6 separate regions of the Homo sapiens genome follow, and all the other regions are linked to region 3. Evidence: promoter capture Hi-C in 16 types of primary human blood cells and fetal thymus (Javierre and others, 2016). All regions are on one chromosome and are shown on one strand. The core of a region is centred on a gene start or on the middle of the fragment in contact, and the rest is flanking DNA. Distances in the headings are between cores, read along the strand shown. Region 1 overlaps DOCK3 (dedicator of cytokinesis 3). Region 2 overlaps MANF (mesencephalic astrocyte derived neurotrophic factor). Region 3 holds the start of C3orf18 (chromosome 3 open reading frame 18). Region 4 overlaps DCAF1 (DDB1 and CUL4 associated factor 1). Region 5 overlaps DOCK3 (dedicator of cytokinesis 3). Region 6 overlaps DCAF1 (DDB1 and CUL4 associated factor 1).

Evidence for each region. Contacts are between HindIII fragments. The CHiCAGO score rates a contact against its expected background, and 5 or more counts as called.
Region 1: a contact is called between a fragment that was not itself captured here and the fragment with the promoter of C3orf18 in region 3, in 4 of 17 cell types (total B cells, total CD4 T cells, endothelial precursors and 1 more). The highest score is 6.8, in total B cells.
Region 2: a contact is called between a fragment that was not itself captured here and the fragment with the promoter of C3orf18 in region 3, in 15 of 17 cell types (erythroblasts, total CD4 T cells, endothelial precursors and 12 more). The highest score is 20.0, in erythroblasts.
Region 4: a contact is called between a fragment that was not itself captured here and the fragment with the promoter of C3orf18 in region 3, in 6 of 17 cell types (M1 macrophages, megakaryocytes, total B cells and 3 more). The highest score is 5.5, in M1 macrophages.
Region 5: a contact is called between a fragment that was not itself captured here and the fragment with the promoter of C3orf18 in region 3, in 14 of 17 cell types (naive CD4 T cells, total B cells, naive B cells and 11 more). The highest score is 14.1, in naive CD4 T cells.
Region 6: a fragment that was not itself captured here is called in contact with the fragment with the promoter of C3orf18 in region 3 in 1 of 17 cell types (total CD8 T cells); the score reaches 5.4 in total CD8 T cells.

What each region holds. Positions count from the first base shown.
Region 1 is chr3:51,314,300-51,317,015 of GRCh38, forward strand. It overlaps DOCK3 (dedicator of cytokinesis 3), which reads left to right. Exons shown (of 53, transcript NM_004947.5): 32 at 681-829. Among named protein-coding and RNA genes, the nearest start is that of MANF, 70 kb to the right of the region's middle. The HindIII fragment of the contact is 1,574 bases long and covers 581-2,154 here.
Region 2 is chr3:51,387,748-51,390,630 of GRCh38, forward strand. It overlaps MANF (mesencephalic astrocyte derived neurotrophic factor), which reads left to right. Exons shown (of 4, transcript NM_006010.6): 3 at 1-131; 4 at 1,158-1,650. The coding sequence ends at 1,342. Among named protein-coding and RNA genes, the nearest start is that of RBM15B, 2.1 kb to the right of the region's middle. The HindIII fragment of the contact is 2,509 bases long and covers 90-2,598 here.
Region 3 is chr3:50,566,272-50,569,356 of GRCh38, forward strand. C3orf18 (chromosome 3 open reading frame 18) reads right to left here and starts at 1,476. Exons shown (of 6, transcript NM_016210.5): 1 at 1,192-1,476. It also overlaps a transcript of HEMK1 not described here. RefSeq lists a silencer at 1,108-1,617 and an enhancer at 3,056-3,085. The HindIII fragment of the contact is 20,682 bases long and covers 1-3,085 here.
Region 4 is chr3:51,406,900-51,409,907 of GRCh38, forward strand. The region is part of intron 23 of DCAF1 (DDB1 and CUL4 associated factor 1); the gene reads right to left. Among named protein-coding and RNA genes, the nearest start is that of RBM15B, 17 kb to the left of the region's middle. The HindIII fragment of the contact is 758 bases long and covers 1,311-2,068 here.
Region 5 is chr3:51,368,458-51,371,543 of GRCh38, forward strand. The region is part of intron 49 of DOCK3 (dedicator of cytokinesis 3); the gene reads left to right. Among named protein-coding and RNA genes, the nearest start is that of MANF, 15 kb to the right of the region's middle. The HindIII fragment of the contact is 1,173 bases long and covers 945-2,117 here.
Region 6 is chr3:51,439,406-51,442,287 of GRCh38, forward strand. It overlaps DCAF1 (DDB1 and CUL4 associated factor 1), which reads right to left. Exons shown (of 25, transcript NM_001387579.1): 8 at 1,980-2,492; 9 at 1,565-1,666. Among named protein-coding and RNA genes, the nearest start is that of RBM15B, 50 kb to the left of the region's middle. The HindIII fragment of the contact is 759 bases long and covers 1,214-1,972 here.

The DNA.
Region 1 (2,716 bases), core at 118-2,617, 750 kb after region 3:
GGGTTGAGCTGAGCCAAGTAGGTGTAATGGCACCATCAGAAATGCAATATGAACACAAAGGGAGTTCAGGGTGGGTAAAGAGAGAATCTCTAAGCCAGCCTTTTAGGGTAGGGCTGTGCAGGAGACTCCTGCTAGCTCAGGAGGAGGACTTCTTTGGCATACATGAACATAGGCAGTGTAAAAATCCATGGACTTATTAGACGTCTGGTGGCTAGACCAGGGACTGGATATCCTCATCACTTAAATGTCTCTGGGCTAGAGCTAGAAACTCCAAGGAGAGTGCATTGTATTTAAGCAGAAATATTGGGTTTTTCTTGTTAAATAAACACTGTGAATAGACCATCTGACACTCATAGGTTACTCAGAAACCTATTCTGTCTAGAGTAGCAAACTCTGTTCCTTCATCTCAGAGAGATTTTCAGGTAGTTTGTGGGACTGTCAGGAAATTCTTTGGAAAAGCAGTTTTGTGACAGTTGCGCATTTGCTTTCACTGGGCTAGGCCAACTTTATCCATAAACTCTAAAAAGTTGAGGGAGAGTACCTCAGAAAACCATAGGGGAGAGCTTGTTTTGCTCTCAGAAGCTTCCAGTATGGATTGTAGCATGTGTTGTGGCCCCATTTGGGAATCTTCCATGGAAGGAGCAAAGCAGGCATAAACTAATTTGGGTTTTGTTTTTCAGGTGAACATAAGATCCACTTTATTCCGGGAATGATTGGTCCTTTTCTGGGTGTGACACTGGTCCCACAGCCAGAAGTACGGAATATCATGATTCCCATCTTTCATGACATGATGGACTGGGAGCAGAGAAAAAATGGCAACTTCAAACAGGTAAGACACCTGGCAGTGTTCGGGGTATTCTCTGGAATGGATCCCTTCTGCTTAGGCAGGTGGCCTAGATGACCAAGCCATGATTCTAGTGGGGATGGGCTGTAGTTTGGCTAATTTGAATCCTGTTCAAGGGTTTTCCCTTACTTGCTGGCCAAAATTGATTTGTGGATTTTCTCCATGAAGTTAGAGGCCAGAAAATAATGAGGCCAGGAAAGAATGAACATCACTATAACTTTCTGATCAAGGAATGATTGAGACTGTAGCCTCCCAGTTTCAATCATGATAGGGCCCTGGGAGTGTGATGTCATTCCTTTACTGAGGATTTTCACTGTATAATCCAGGCATTTCTAGGGCTGCAGCCCAGACCAGATGACTTCTCATGGCTCAGGGTAGCCCAGCATTTTATAGACTACTGCACAGAGGGGTTGGTCCAGGAGATACAGGCCCCTTGGCTTCCAACTGAATGGCTTCAGGCTGTCCTCCTGTGTAGTTCTTTTGCCACCACTAAGTGTAGGAGATGGCCCCTGCCTTTATATCTGTAGCTCCAGGGGATAGTACCAGGACCAATAGGGGCTAATGATGAGGAAGCCAATTTTAGCTAATCAAATAAATAACTTGCTAACAGCAAAAACTGTCCACTGTAAGCAGGCCTGCTTTGGGAGATAGAGATTTTCTCTCTTGGCAGATGATCTTCAAGCAGAAGCTCCCAGGAAACCTCTAGGGGAATTTTCTGTATTGGCTTGGGAATTGTACCAGTTCCCCACTAAGCTCCTTCCGAGCCTGTGATTCTGGGATGAACCAGTGGTCTATTTAGAATAGGTGACTGTAACAGTGAGAAGTAGACCAGGCAAACAGTAATTTTTAAATATTTATTTATTTTTAAATTTACATAGAGTAAAATGTATTCTTCTTGATTTACAGTTCTATGTGTTTTGGCAAATGCATAGTCGTGTAACCACTACCACAATCAAGAGTTTTTGAATACTTAAAAATTCAGTCTTGCTGTCTATTTGTAGTCAAACCCTTCCCCTGTTCTTAACAAATGCAACCATAGGTCTGCTCTTCATCACTATAGTTGTGCCTTTTCTAGACTGTCATATAAATGGAATCAAGCAAAGTGCAGCCTTTTGAGACTGGCCCCTTTCACTTAGCATAATGCTTTGAGAAATTAATCCATGTCACTGCATGTATCAGTAGCTTTTCTATGCTGAGTAGTATTTAGTTCATTCATTCACCATTTGAAAGACATTTGGGTTATTTCCTCTTTTGTGGATTATAAATAAAGCTACTAAAAACATTTCTTTACAGGTTTTTGTATGCATATAAGCTTTCATTTTTCTTGAGTGAATACTTAGGAATAGGATTGTTGGGCCTTGTGACAAGTGTGTAATTAGCTTTCGAAGAGGTTCTCAAACTCTTTTCTAAAATAGCTATACCATTTTGAAGTCTCAGCAGCAGTATATAATCGATTGCTCCGCATACTAACCAGTACTTAGTATTATCTGTTCGTTTGTTTTAGCCATTCTAATAGGTGTGTAGTTGTATATCATTGTGGTTTTCATTTCTATTTCCCTAGTGACTAATGGTGTTGAGCATCTTTTCATATGCTTATATACCATCTTTATGCTTCTTTGGTAAAATGAGTTCAAAGCTTTTGTTCATTTTCATTTGAGTTGCTGCTTTCCTTATTGTTGAATTGTAGGGTTCTTTATATATTCTGTATGTAAGTCCTTTGTTGAGCATATGATTTACAGATATTTTCTGCAAATCTTTAGCTTATCTTTTCATTTACTAAACAATATCTTTCTTAGAACAAAAGTTTTTAATTTTTATGAAGTCCAGTTTGTCAATGTTTTTCTTTTATAGATCATGCTTTTGGGGTCATAC
Region 2 (2,883 bases), core at 94-2,593, 820 kb after region 3:
CGGGGCCACAGATGATGCAGCCACCAAAATCATCAATGAGGTATCAAAGCCTCTGGCCCACCACATCCCTGTGGAGAAGATCTGTGAGAAGCTTAAGAAGAAGGACAGCCAGATATGTGAGCTTAAGTATGGTGAGTATGCCTAGTCCTTTCTTAATGAATGCTGTGCACCTTCTGGGTTTGTTTCCCATCTGGGAGAGGAAAATGATGAGCTAGAGTCATGAGTGGGTTGTATTGTATGACAGATGGTGCTAAATGCTGGAGGGCTCTGGCATGGAAGTGGGTGGAGGTCAGAATAGGCCTTATTGAAGAAGTGATATTTCAGCAAACTTTGAAGGAGGTGAGGATTAGCCAAGAGGCCAGCTAATGGAAGAGGATACAGGCAGGATAAAGGTGTCCAGTGGCATGGCAAGTCAGAGAGCATTGCAGGCTGGTGAGGGCTTTTAATCTGCGTGAAGTTAGGAGCATTAGGAGTTTTTCAGCAGAGAAGGGACATAGTACGACTTGGGTTTAACAGGCTGGTTCTGGCTGCAAGCTCTGAAGCCCCAGTGATTTTTACTATTCTGAAAAGAAACACTATGTCCAAGCATGCAAGCCCAAGAGTTAGGAACTACAGCATCTCTCTTGCTGACTGGGTCTCTGGTGTACATAGTCCCAGTCTTCAGAAACAGTCAGGGCCTCTTCTGAAAAACTTGAATGGCCAAGGACCTGTGTTCACCTACTTGCGTCTTCCTGGTACAGGTCCAGTTGGCTCCAGGTCACTGTGGTCATGGAGAGTAAGTTCCTAACTCAAAGGCCTGAGCAGGGCTGCTCTTTGGCACCAGCCTGGAGTTGTTAGTATGTGGTGACTATGTCAGAGGCACTTGGAAGATGGGAACCATGTTTCTCCTATAAGGACAGTGTGGCCTCTGTCCCTATCCTTGTTCACGCTGCATATCTGTAGTAGACATAATATGTAGCCAGCCTTCCTGGTGAAGAGGCTAGTTCCCTCTTGTGGGGGCAGTAGGCACTGACATGCCTGTAAATGTGTCTGGAAATGTCTCTTCCTCTGAAACCAGTAGGGCTGGTTTGGCCGTTCAGGGAGTGACATACTCTGGGACTACTGGGGGACTGCAGGTGCTCCACCCAGTCAGTGACTCTCCCTGCTCTCTCCTCCAGACAAGCAGATCGACCTGAGCACAGTGGACCTGAAGAAGCTCCGAGTTAAAGAGCTGAAGAAGATTCTGGATGACTGGGGGGAGACATGCAAAGGCTGTGCAGAAAAGTCTGACTACATCCGGAAGATAAATGAACTGATGCCTAAATATGCCCCCAAGGCAGCCAGTGCACGGACCGATTTGTAGTCTGCTCAATCTCTGTTGCACCTGAGGGGGAAAAAACAGTTCAACTGCTTACTCCCAAAACAGCCTTTTTGTAATTTATTTTTTAAGTGGGCTCCTGACAATACTGTATCAGATGTGAAGCCTGGAGCTTTCCTGATGATGCTGGCCCTACAGTACCCCCATGAGGGGATTCCCTTCCTTCTGTTGCTGGTGTACTCTAGGACTTCAAAGTGTGTCTGGGATTTTTTTATTAAAGAAAAAAAATTTCTAGCTGTCCTTGCAGAATTATAGTGAATACCAAAATGGGGTTTTGCCCCAGGAGGCTCCTACCAGTTTCTGCTTTCCAGTTGCAGAGTTTGGGGGGTTATTCATTCCCATTTATCTCTCAACCCACCAGTGCTGAAAATACCAGAGCAGGACATAGGGGCTGGGGCCAGCTGATGTGTGTGGGTGTGTACCACTAGAGGGCAGCAGGCACTCAGCAGAAAGGAGGTGGCGGGGGCGGGGGGTGCTGCGCTTGATACCCTGCCCCTTGATACAGTATCTGTCTTACCCGCCCAAGAGAGCTGGAGGCCACAGCTCTAGGAGGAGTGAGTCTGGGATACATTGGAGGGCCTTATATTGTGGCTCAGTACAAGCAAGACAGGGTGTCTGGAGTGTGGTTTTTCCACAAGGATATCTTCAATCAGTGCACGTCAGCACTGACATCTCTATAAAGATGCTGTTGGCCTGGCCACCTACTTGCTCTTTTGTCCATTCCAAGCCTCTGATGTCTGTTCCAGTTTTTGCAAGTCTGGCAGGAGTCAGCTTATACAAAGAGGGAGTGGGAAGCTGCCTTTTGCCTTTGTTTACCCTAGATTAGTCTAACAGTTGAGGTCCAGGGTTTTGCTGGAGTCTGCTTCTTAAGCCACTCTCTGTGGCACTGGTGCTTAGGAAACCCAGTTGTTAGTGTGAGCTGTGGCTCAATGAAGACACCTGTAGAAACCACCTGAAAGGACGGACTAAGAACCAGTGCTTTCCAAGTAATTGGTCTTGCCTCAGATCACTTCACTTGTGTCTCCTAAGCTCAGTTTGCCTGTAGGAGGCCTTGCTGCTGTGGAACCCATTGCTTTCTTCCAAGACCTTTCCCCCTGCACCTGCCTGAGCTACTCCAGGAGCTGCTTTCTCTTTGTGCGAAGAGGGCATGACTTGGTCTGCTCTTCCCCATCGCAAGGATTCTGTGCCAGAAATTGGGTCAGGTTCTACCATGGCTCCAGCAACTGTCCTTGGAGAATGAAAGCTTCCTCAATGGGCTTGAGCACCTGGGCACCCTTTCCCTCACCTCACCTGGGGAGAAGAGGTCGTCCTGAAGGTGATGAACAGGAGGGTACTGGCCAGCGAGGGGTCAGCGTGGCAAGGTGTGATAACTGCTGGCACTATCTGTGCATATGGCCTCTTCATCCTTGGCTCTTACGGCCCTACCTTTCCAGCCTGCTATCTGCCCACAGAAGAGGGTGGGACCCAAGAGTGGCGTTAAAGAGTCTATTCCAACTCCATCAACTGCAACTGCAGGCTTGTCTCTG
Region 3 (3,085 bases), core at 226-2,725:
CCTGGAGGGAAACACTTGCCCAAGAGTCAGACAGGCCTGTCTTTGAAACCTAGCTCAGCTGCTTAACTAGTGATCCCTAGAAAGTCACTCCACCTCTCTGTGTCTCCGTTTTCCTGAGTCTAAGGTGGGGATATTGAGAACATCCCCACAGGGTCATGGGGTTACAGAAATGGCAGAACAAACAGGTGTCGAAGAAAGACTTAGCTCAGCACAACCCCCATCCACAGTAAGCATCCACTACATGTTAGATTTTCTCCCCATGGCCAACCCAGTCACAAAGGGGAGCCAAGGGAGCCCCTGGACCCAGTCCACTGTATGGTCCAGACTATGCTTGGAGTGTGGGTGGAGGCTGATGTGGAAAGACCAGAAGACAAGAAGGAGAGAGAGGCTCTGGTTCTCTGGCGGGGCTTCTCCGCAGGCTCTCGGGGACATTGGACTGCCCTCCCCACCCACCAACAATAGAGGGGCTGCTAGGGTCAAGGAGAAAGGCGAGGCAGGAATGGAGCTCCCAGTGTGGGTGCCTTCTCTTCCTTTACCCTCCTCCCCTGGAAGCAGAGGGTGAGAGATTTGCCCAGTGCAGAGGGCCCTGGTTAAGGTGGGGTGGGAAGAGGTGCCAGCCAAGCTGCAGATGGGACGGCCTAGGGAGAGGAGGGATACCTAGCTCGTGGGTGCATACATCCCCCTGTGCTGGTTCATGGGCATTAGTGGGGTTGCCTCCCTGTGCAGATGCATGGGCGTGTGTGAGATGTGTAAACACCTCTGATGGTCCCTGAGGAAGGGGCAAGGCTGGCAGAGGGTTATGGGGTAGAAAGGCTCATCCCTCTTTGCCTTCTCCCTCCAGCTAGGCTGGGCACATCTGGGCACATAGGAAGTCCCGGGTTCTTTTCTTGGCTTTGCAACTGATCCCGGGCGTGACCTTGGGCCAAACCCTTAACTCGTGCCCTGGGGCTCTGTTAACATCGCCTCCCAAAGGAGAGAAGAGGCCCTACTGACCACTTTCCAGGCCTGCCTCAGGGTCCAAAGGGGAAGGGAAGGAAACCGGGGTAAAAGGGGTCGGCACCGCGACCTTCGAGAACCCGCATGCTGTTCTCCACCAGGTCTCTCAGTCCTCCCTGCCCCAATCCCCATGCCCGCCTCCGCGACCCTGTGATGCCTCCCTTCTTGCACAGGAGCAGTGACCTCAGCACTTACTTAATCCTCTCCCGGCGCCGAGCTCAGTTGGAGAGGCTAGGGGTGGTAGTGACTGGCAGGAGGCCGGGGCGGGGGGAACCCCCAAGCCCGGCGTCTGGGGCTGCGGGTCCGACCCGAGATCCGCCCTCCCTGCAAGCCCCGAGCCGCTGGCCAGGCCCGCTACTGCGCACCAGCCGCATCCGCGAGCGCTGGCTCTGCCGGCCTGAGCTAGGGTGGGTAGGGCCGGGACCCACGGCGGAGGTGGGGCCGGGCCGAGCAGCCTCGGGGGATCCCCGAAGCTACAGCGCCTTGCCTCCCTGCACGCTCCGCGCCCCCGGCCTCCGATTGGCTGTCGGGCCTAGAGCCCGCCCAGAATTGGACCGTTCGCTTGTCGCTCGGGTCTGGCTCCACCCCCAGAGGGAGCCTAGAACCTGGTCGCAGTTTTTAGAGACTACCCTCACCCCGTGGCCTGCGCCGAAGTTGGGCGGAGGACAGTGGGTGGCCAGGCCCTTCCGGGCCAGAACTCGGGACCCCTGCCAGCTACCCGTGCCAGGACAGACTCAAGCCCCCAAAACGCGGATGGATGTACAGAGGAGACTTGGGGAGAGCACTGGACTGGGAGTCCTTGGGCCTGCACTGAACTCTGGCTGACTTTGTGACCTTGAAGAAACTGCTTTTCCCTTCCTGAACCTTGGCTTTCTACTCAGACGGGTCCTCTGGTGTGAGGGTTCTAGACGAAGATGGGGAATCTTCGTCTACAGAAGTTGAGAGTGGGGTGGATTTATTATTGGGCACCCCGACCCAGGCAAGTCTACATATACCCTCACAATAGCTTCCATCCACGGCATGATCAGCTCAGGGAAGGAGCCCTCAGATACTCCTGATCCGCCGGTTTTCAAAGTAGTTTATGGGAGTCACCGGGTAGCCTGGTACAAATGCAAACGCCCCTGTGTCTCCCGGTCTGGGAAGGAGGCAGGGAAACAGCATGTTTAATAGCAGTTTAAGGCCGGGCGTGGTGGCTCACTCCTGTAATCCCAGCACTTTGAGAGGCCGAGGCGATGGATCACCTGAAGTCAGGAGTTCGAGACCAGCCTGACCAACATGGTGAAACCCTGTCTCTATTAAAAATACAGAATTAGCCGGTCGTGTTGGCTCACGCCTGTAATCCCAGCTACTTGGGAGGCTGAGGCAGGAGAATGGCTTGAACCCGGAGGCCGAGGTTGCAGTGAGCAGAGATCGCGCCATTGTACTTCAGCCTGCGCAACAAGAGCAAAACTCCGTCTCAAAAAAAAAAAAAAAAAAAAAGAAAAAAAGAAAAAAAAAGTAGTTAACAGTGTTCTAGTTAACAGTACTTTCTGGTGGGGAGATGTTGACAAGACACACTTTGCGAGACGCTGCCGAGTATTTTATAGAAGGCGCAACTGAGGTCCAGAGGTCCCAACACCTGGAGGAGTTGCCAATAGAGTCAAGATTCGAATCGGTAAAAGAGCGGCCCCTGGGGTCTGGCCGCCAGTCGGCCGACCCCCTGGTGGGCTCGGGCCACTGACCTCGGTAGGGTCACGACACTGGGACTGGACCCCAAAGTTGGACCAGCCTTCAACACTGGAACCCGCCCATGCACAGCTCCACCCGGCCCCCAGGCTAAGATAGACCACGCCCCCGGACATCTGGTCCCCGCCGGAACACCCGGGCCCTCTGGTGACACGCCCCCTTTCCGGCAGGCTACTGGGCTCCGCCCACACACCTCCCGGCCTGGTTCCTAAACGCCAGCTCGGAGCAATCCCCTTGGGCTGGAGCCAAATCCCTGCTGTGATTTTAAGGAAGACCGGCAGGTCCGGGCCCCCAAGGGTCAACCCCACACACATCCCCGCACTTTCCTGTATGCAGGCCTGCGAGCGTAGAGGGAGTGGAATTC
Region 4 (3,008 bases), core at 440-2,939, 840 kb after region 3:
TACCTACACTTTGGCTGGGCGCAGTGGCTCACACCTGTAATCCCAGCACTTTGGGAGGCCAAGGCGGGTGGATCACCTGAGGTCAGGAGTTCGAGACCAGCCTGGGCAACAGGGTGAAACCTCGTCTCTACTAAAATACAAAATTAGTCGGGTGTGGTGGCACATGCCTTTAGTCCCAGCTACTTGGGAGGCTGAGACAGAAGAATTGCTTGAACCTAGGAGGCGGAAGCCTGGGCGAGACAGAGTGAGACTCCATCTCAAAAAAAAAAAAAAAAAAAAACAACAACAAAACCGTCATTCAAATCTGATCCTGACCTTTATGTAACATGTCATATTTTGCTAAATGTATAAATGCCTACTTTTTAAAAAATACTTTTTCTGTCCTTAAAGGCTATAGGTTCACTTTAGGGTCATAAATGTTTGTTTTTCTTTCCTCAATGGCAGAATCTAACTCAAGTTACATTTCAATTCTTTAAGAAAATGAGGCCTTTCAGGAATCAACACATTCAGCTCTGACCAGGTGTGTGTAATCAGTAAAGACTCTTAACATCCGCTTCTAGGCAGTGGAGAACACACAGGAAGCACAGCACACAGTGTGTCCCAGACTCCAAAATGGAGTGGAAAACAGAGAGCATTATTCCTTTGTTGAGTTTTTTATTATAAATTTAAGGTTAAGTATAATTAGCTAAAATGTATTGGCTTGTCAAAATCTAGGAGCAATGATCAATTACTTATCTTGGGTTTTGTAACTTTTCTAAAAGTCAAATCAAAGATGAATGAACTGATTTCTAAAAACACAGGCACCAGGTTGGGCGCGGTGGCTCATGCCTATAATCCCAGCACTTTGGGAGGCCGAGGTGGGCGGATCACCTGAGGTCAGGAGTTCGAGATCAGCCTGGCTAACATGGTGAAACCCCATCTCTACTAAAAATACAGAATTGGCCGGTTGTGGTGGCAGGCGCCTACAATCCCAGCTACTCAGGGAGGCTGAGGCAGATTTGCCTGAACCTGGGAGGTGGAGGTTGCAGTGAGCCAAGATCGCAACACTGCGCTCCAGCCTGGGTGACAGGGCGAGACTCCATCTCAAAAAAAAAAAAAAAAAAAAAAAAACAACCAGATACCAAACTTCTAATGGATAATAATGAGCTGTGATAGGTGACTAGCTTATCTCTGCTTTCATCAAATGCCTGAAGGCAGGCAGACTAGCAGCCTCAGGAACCAAATATTTATGGGTGTCCAATACATTGTTTAGGTTTTCATTCATCTAGATACAGCTAGCTGTACCTTTCATCCTTTCCTCTTAATCTCCAAGCTTATTTAAGCATAAGGACAAAGGACAAATATTTTATGGCATGTCAATTATATCTCGATAAAGCTCTTTATGCTGGACCATTTTATTAGATGACGGCTGACCATTCAGGCTTCTGAATTTATTTTGCTATAATGAAAAGGCAAATTCAAAGGTGTTGGTCACAGGTGCCTGTATCCCTGAGCCACATAAGTCATATCTGGAACATCTGAGAAGACCTGAGAACAGATATCTAGACTAGGACAAAACTTTGAATAGCAAATGATTCATAGGAAAATGAAAAGTCTCTAGTTTTAAAATCAGGTGAAGCGTACAAAGCAAAGTAAAACTAGAGACTGGTTTTCCTACAAAGGAAAGTGAGTTTAAAAAAAATTCAAGCTGGCACACTGTGCATGAGAGGCAGTAGGCAGAAATCTGATGGAGATAGTAAAAACAGCCAAACTCCACCACAAGATTCTAGAAGGAGCATGGATCAACAGAATTAAGGTTACAAAAGAGACCTACTCAAATAGATACGGTATTATCCCGTATCTCTAAATCAAACATCTCTAAATCAAAAATCAAAATGCCAAGGGCTTGAGGGGATAAGCAGTTCTCTAACAGAGGTCCTTCAAACATGAAATGCACCAGATGATCAATAAAAGCTGTAATATCAGTATGGAGTGAAACATGCCTAGATCCTAAGAAATCTGGAAGCCACAGTAATAACTTAGCCATGTTGCACACCTACCCTGCCACCTAGTCTTCTCTGAGCTAGAAAGCTTTCCGGCTCTTCTACAGGCTGGGCTCCAGAGCCACTCCTTAGAGCCCTCTTGACCCTGCCCCTCTCACTCTTGGCTGTCACGCTGAGGCAGCCTCTTGCTTTCCTTCCTGCATCCAAGTCAAAAGTCCTGACCACTACCATATGCCCTTCCTAATCTCTTTCTCCCTTAACTTCTCAGAAGTTAAGCAGGACAAAAGAAGAAGAATTAGTCAGTCTTTTCCCTGACCCAAGCCTTCCTGGAGAGAGTGGGATAAGAGGAGTATAACTCTTAAATTATTCCCTTATGGTGGCCTCTCGCTTCCACAGCCAGCCACCAACCTCCAGTGCCTTTGCCTCTCACCACTCCATGTCTGCAAGAATAAGGCGAACCCAGAGAATAGCCTTCCAACTCCCAAGGTGTCTAGGGCAATCTCAACTTTCCTCTGAGTTGACCTCCCCCTCAAAGACAGACACCAGGCATCACATGGACCCAGGTGATGGTTCCCAGAGAAGACTGCCGCCCACTGCCTTATTAAATGCACGGATATGGGAGGGCTGGGATAATGATGTTGACAAACAATCCAGTTTTGGCCTCAGATTTATGCTTCAACATGTAACATCCAAGAAGCCTGATTCAGAACTGATACTTGGTAGTGATGAATAAACCCACGGAGGACAAAGCAGTCGACAGCCACCCATACCATTGTAATGTACGCGCAAATGGCCTGACAACTGCACCCTCTGTATGGACTCAAGAATAAACTACATCTTGTTTCATGATAGCTAATGTGAAAAAGTAGGCATTAAGGGAGTGAGGTGTCTAAGGTAGCAAACTGAAGTGAGAATAAAAGAACAGGCAGTATTAAGAAACCCACTCAAGGCAACCACATGAAATTTGGAGGACCTAATACCAAGCTCTGCTACCCAGAAAGACTAGAAACATGTACAAGCTGTAAC
Region 5 (3,086 bases), core at 281-2,780, 800 kb after region 3:
TAGCACAGCAGTCTGAGATTGAACTGCAAGGAGGCAGTGAGGCTGTGGGAGGGGCATCCGCCATTGCTGAGGCTTGAGTAGGTAAACAAAGCGGCTGGGAAGCTCGAACTGGGTGGAGCCCACTGCAGCTCAAGGAGGGCTGCCTGCCTCTGTAGCCTCCACCTCTGGGGGCAGGGCATAGCTGAACAAAAGGCAGCAGAAACTTCTGCAGACTTAAACGTCCCTGTCTGACAGCTTTGAAGAGAGTAGTGGTTCTCCCAGCATGGAGTTTAAGATCTGAGAACGGACAGACTGCCTCCTCAAGTGGGTCCCTGAACCCTCAGGAGCCTAACTGGGAGGCACCTCCCAGTAGGGGGCGACTGACACCTCATATGGCAGGGTGCCCCTCTGAGACAAAGCTTCCAGAGTGAAGGATCAGAAAGCAACATTTGCTGTTCTGCAGCGTCCACTGTTGATACCCAGGCAAACAGGGTCTGGAGTGGACCTCCATCAAACTCCAACAGACCTGCAGCTGAGGGTCCTGACTGTTAGAAGGAAAACTAACAAACAGAAAGGACATGCACACAAAAACCCCATCTGTACGTCACCATTATCAAAGACCAAAGGTAGATAAAACCACAAAGATGGGGAGAAACCAAAGCAGAAAAGCTGAAAATTCTAAAAATCAGAGCACTTCTCCTCCAAAGGAACGCAGCTCCTCGCCAGCAATGGAACAAAGCTGGATGGAGAATGACTTTGACAAGTTGAGAGAAGAAGGCTTCAGATGATCGGTAATGACAAACTTATCCGAGCTAAAGGAGGATGTTTGAACCCATTGCAAAGAAGCTAAAAACCTTGAAAAAAGAGTAGATGAATGGCTAACTAGAATAAACAGTGTAGAGAAGTCCTTAAATGACCTGATGGAGCTGAAAACCATGGCATGAGAGTGACGTGATGCATGCACAAGCTTCAGTAGCCGATTCGATCAACTGGAAGAAAGGGTATCAGTGATTGAAGATCAAATGAATGAAAATGAAGCGAAAAGAGAAGTTTAGAGAAAAAAGAGTAAAAAGAAATGAACAAAGCCCCCAAGAAATATGGGACTATGTGAAAATCTACGTCTGATTGGTGTAATAGCACAAATGTATGACTTGGGAAGTCATTAAGAAAAGAAGCTCTCTAAAGCACACAAACCCATGAAGCCCACAGTAGGAGTGATGGAGAGAAGCCCACAGTAGGAGTGATGGAGAGAAGCCCACAGTAGGAGTGACTGCTGTATGGCACAGTGAAAAGATGCAGTGACCACCTGGGAAAAGCCTTGGCAGATTGTAGAGGGAAGTGGAGTAAGGTTGCAGCAGGCACAGTCAGACTTCACCTGAAGTATTCAGACCAAGCCCTCATTTCCAGGGCAAGGGAATTAAGGCCACCTAGCCAGTTCACAGCCAAGCTAAGTTTGGGGCACAGATCTTTACACTCACCAGCCCTCACTCTCATGCCCATTCCACTGCCCATATTGCCTCCCTAGCATGGACTCTGAGGTCAGAAAAGGGGAGCCAGCATTTGAAAGCAGACATTTCTAGTACTAAATAGGACAAATGAACCAAAAGATCGGTGCATGCTGAAGATTTGTCAGTATGTGAAAGCTGCAGACATAGAGAAGGAGCAGTGATATGTGTTATCAAGAAGGCACACTGAAAGACGGCCTTGGGAATAAAAAGAAAAGAAACCCTGAGCCATGAGTGCCACAGTCAAGGTTGGCATTTATAGTGTCTTCAGGTAAATAGTCCTGAATAGAGCTGCAGAAACAGTTTCTGTAATCCCTTCTGGTTTTGTTTTTTTCCCTAACCTAAAGCGTCTCTAAGATATGTTCTGACATATCTAAGACTTTATCTGGTATTCTTGCTGAGGACAGATCTCTGAATCATGATGATTGATAAACACAGAAGGCAACCAAGGATGGACATTTGAACTCAAATGCACTCTGACATTGGTCAGACACTTCCTCTAGGCTGTTCCAGATACTTAGTGTCCTGAAAAGAAGAAAGAGGAGGAATAAGCAGGCCCTGCTCTTGGGGACCTCACAGGCTGGCGGTTACCACCTTTTCCTTCCAGCCGTTGACTGATTTATTCACTTATCAAGCTTTTACTGAATGCTCAGTGAGGAACCTGCATGGCTCTTGCCACGGGGGCAGGTGGTGCACTATGTCAGTGCTGAATAGAGAGAAATTATCTTCTTGTCTGGAAATAACTCATTTTTACTTCAAATGGCTTGGTTATCTGTTGCTGCATAATAAGCCACCCCCAAAACTTCTTAAAACAATCTATTATCATCTCTTATTCTGTGGGTTTACAGGGCTCACTGAGCAATTCTCACTTGGTGTCAGATGTCACTGGCTGGAATCATCTAAAAGCTCAGGTGGGCTAGATATTCGAGATGGCTCACATACATGGCTGGCAATTGATGCTGGTGGTCAGCTTGGGGTGCGACTGGGGCTGTCAACTTGAGCTCCTACATATGACCTTTCCATGTGACTTAGGCTTCTCACAGCATGGCAGCTGATTTTCCCCAGAGAAAGCATTCCAAGAGACCCAGGAAGAAGCCTCAAGGCTCGTTTTTACCCAGCCTTGGATGTCCCAGGAAGTCCCCACGTTTCTAGTCTCCTCAAGTCACTAATGTCAACCCAGATACCAGAAAGAGGAATGAGATTACACCTCATGTTGTAAGGAATGGTGTGTGTGTTTTGGGACAGAAGGTGTTGATGGTCACCATTTTTGGAGATGAGCTGTCACAATGGCCAAACTCCAGAATATCACACAGAGGAAGGCTGAGAGAAGCCCCTTCCCTTTTGGGGGTAAACATTAAGTGCAAAAATAAACAAAATGGTTAAACAGAACTGGGCCCAAAGAGAACAGTGACAAGATCAGAGGCAGTAAGAAAGAAAGCAAGTCCCTTCTAGACCACAACTTCCATACCATCCATGTGCAGGCTCATCTGGAGAAAGGTGCAGGTCCTACATCTATCAAGCACAGTGTTAGGCCCTGGGAGACAAAATAGAAGGGTCTGTGTGACATGGCATCATAGAGAAAGACTGATACTTTCAAATGTA
Region 6 (2,882 bases), core at 343-2,842, 870 kb after region 3:
GCGTGAGCTAACGTGCCTGGCCTGTCTGCTATTTCTATTTTTTTTTTTTTTTTTGAGACAGAGTCTCACTCTGTTGCCCAGGCTGGAGTACAATGGCACGATCTCTGCTCACTGCAACGTCCACCTCCCGAGTTCAAGCGATTCTCCCACCTCAGCCTCCTGAGTAGCTAGGATTACAGGTACCTGCCATCATGCCCAGCTAATTCTGTCTGCTATTTCATTACTCATTTTCTGGTTTCTATTTTGTTAATCCTAGGTAATTTTACATTATACAATATGTACATAGTTTAAAAAATTTTTTTGTGGCCAGGCGTGATGGCTCACTCCTGTAATCCCTACATTCTGGGGGGCTGAGGCGAGTGGTTCACTTGAGGTCAGGAGTTTGAGACCAGCCTGGCCAACATGGTGAAACCCTATCTCTACTAAAAATACAAAAAATTAGCCAGGCATGGTGGCAGGCACCTGTAATCCCAGCTACTCAGGAGGCTGAGGCAGGAGAATTGCTTGACCCAGGAAGCGGAGGTTCCAGTGAGCAGAAATCACACCACTGCACTCCAGCCTGGGCAACAGAGCGAGACTCCATCTCAAAAAAGAAAAAAAGAAAAAATTGTTGTTAGCTGATACAGGTAATATCTAAAAAGTAGGGCATAAGCAAGCACTATTTCATAGTTTTTCCTCTCCTATTCAGCAACAACTGAGGCCACCCCATGTCTAGATTCACTTTTTATCTCAACGTTCAGCCTTTTAGATTAACACCTAAGTTTCTGTAGAGATAGTAAGCCTCCTCTCTTCTATCTAAACAAGAATGTTTTGATTGTTACTATTCTGATGCATCTGGCTATAGAAATAACTTGAGCAATAAAATGCAGAGAAATTACATGCTAAAACACACAGGCACATCTCTGTCAATAAAATGCTCAGTGACACAGGGTATGGTGGCTCATACCTATAATCCTAGTACTTTGGGAGGCCAAAGCAGAAGGATTGCTTCAGTCCAGTTTAAGACCAGCCTGGGCAACATAGCAAGACTATCTCTATAAAAATTTTTTTTAAATTAGCTAAGCATGGTGGCATGCACTTGTCTCAGCTACTCAGGAGGCTGAGGTAGGATTGCTTGGGCCTAGGAGTTCAAAGCCACAGTGAGCTATGATCACCCCATTGCACTCCAGCCTGGGTGACAGAGTGAGACCTATCTCTAAAAATAAATAAGTAAAGCTTCACCAGGCGCAGTGGCTCACGCCTGTAATCCCAGCACTGTGGGAGGCCAAGGCGGGCAGATCACTTGAGGTCAGGAGTTTGAGTCCAGCCTGGCTAACATGGTGAAACCCCATCTCTACTAAAAATATAAAAATCAGCCATGCACGGTAGCATGTGACAGTAATCCCAGCTACTCGGGAGGCTGAGGCAGGAGAATCACTTGAACCCAGGAGGCGGAGGTTGCAGTGAGCCAAGATCGCACCACTGCACTCCAGCCTGGGCGACAGAGTGAGACTCCATCTTAAATTTAAAAAAAAACAAAGTTTTTAAAAAATCCCCGGTGACCCAATATTTTTAAGAACTTTACCTTTAGTGCCTCAAATGTAAGCAGGACATCATTAGTTTGCTTCAGGTCAATATAGAACATCATCAGCTCCCGTGATCCAAGTTGCATGAATATGGGAAGTAGCTGAAATGAACACCAAATACAAGTCTTAAATTTTGGCTTTATTGTCATGTATTTCCTATTCCACTCTTTGAGGATAGAAGCCTAAAGAAATGATGCACCTCTTCCTCCCTCCCTGTGAAGATAAACGTGTAAATGCACTTTAATCAAATAGACCATATCAGGAATGACCTGCATAAGACTTGAACAGTTTCATGCAAACCCTTGTTTGTGGTAGAGTTAGAATATATCTTTGTATAAAATACTACCATAAAATACCACAGAAATGAACACAATAATTCCTATGTGTGAACAGTACTCTTCCCAATAAGCTTACCTCCTGATATTCTCCTAGAGGGGTCAAATATTGGAGAATGAGTCGCTGCTCGATAGCAGGAGTCATAGGATAAAGGGTATAATTGGTGCCAATCACCCAGGGAGACATTTCTGACCAACTGCTATTAGACAGCTCAACAAACATGCGATCTGGATCAGAAGATGAGAAACCCAACTTTTGCTTGGCTTTCCTAAAGTTCTCTCTGTCACCCTGTTTTGCTGACTTGTTTTTCTTTAATCCTCCATCCTCAGGTTTGGTTGTTGAGTTCACTCTGCTACTAGTCTTGTGGCCTGAATCAAGATGAAAGGAGATCTCCATGTCTCCAGAAGCTTCCTCTTGGTCTCCATCCACTACATCTACAGCCATGTCACCATAGTCCATATCCACAGCCTCCTCATCCAGAGGCAAAAGGGGTTCAGAAGAGAGCTTCCGTGGACTGGGACGCTTGTTTTCCTGCCGCAAAGCCACTTCCTGTAGCTGTAGCTCCCTCAGTCTTCGAAGCACTATTGCCACCTATCAACAGATAATTGGAGAAAAAGGGGGTGCCTCTTTATTAAGGATTAAGTAATCCTTAATAATTCTTATTTCCACATAATAACTGGAGACTCATGCAGTGAGCCCAACGCCTGTAATAGCAACAATTTGATAAATGCGTTGCTTTGATTCCTATAAGTTGATGAAATAAGTAACAGCTAAGTATTGTTCCTCATAAAATTTTCCAGAGAATCCAAACCAGAAGATTTGCACATAAAATACATCATTGACAACTGATCTGTTTGGGTCAAGTTGACCTGGACCATCACACCTGAAGAGGCAGAAATTAGATATATTCATGATTTTTCTAATGTGTCTTTGAAAACCAAACATGAAAGTTTCTCAAACTTTTATCTACTGTAGGTTGTA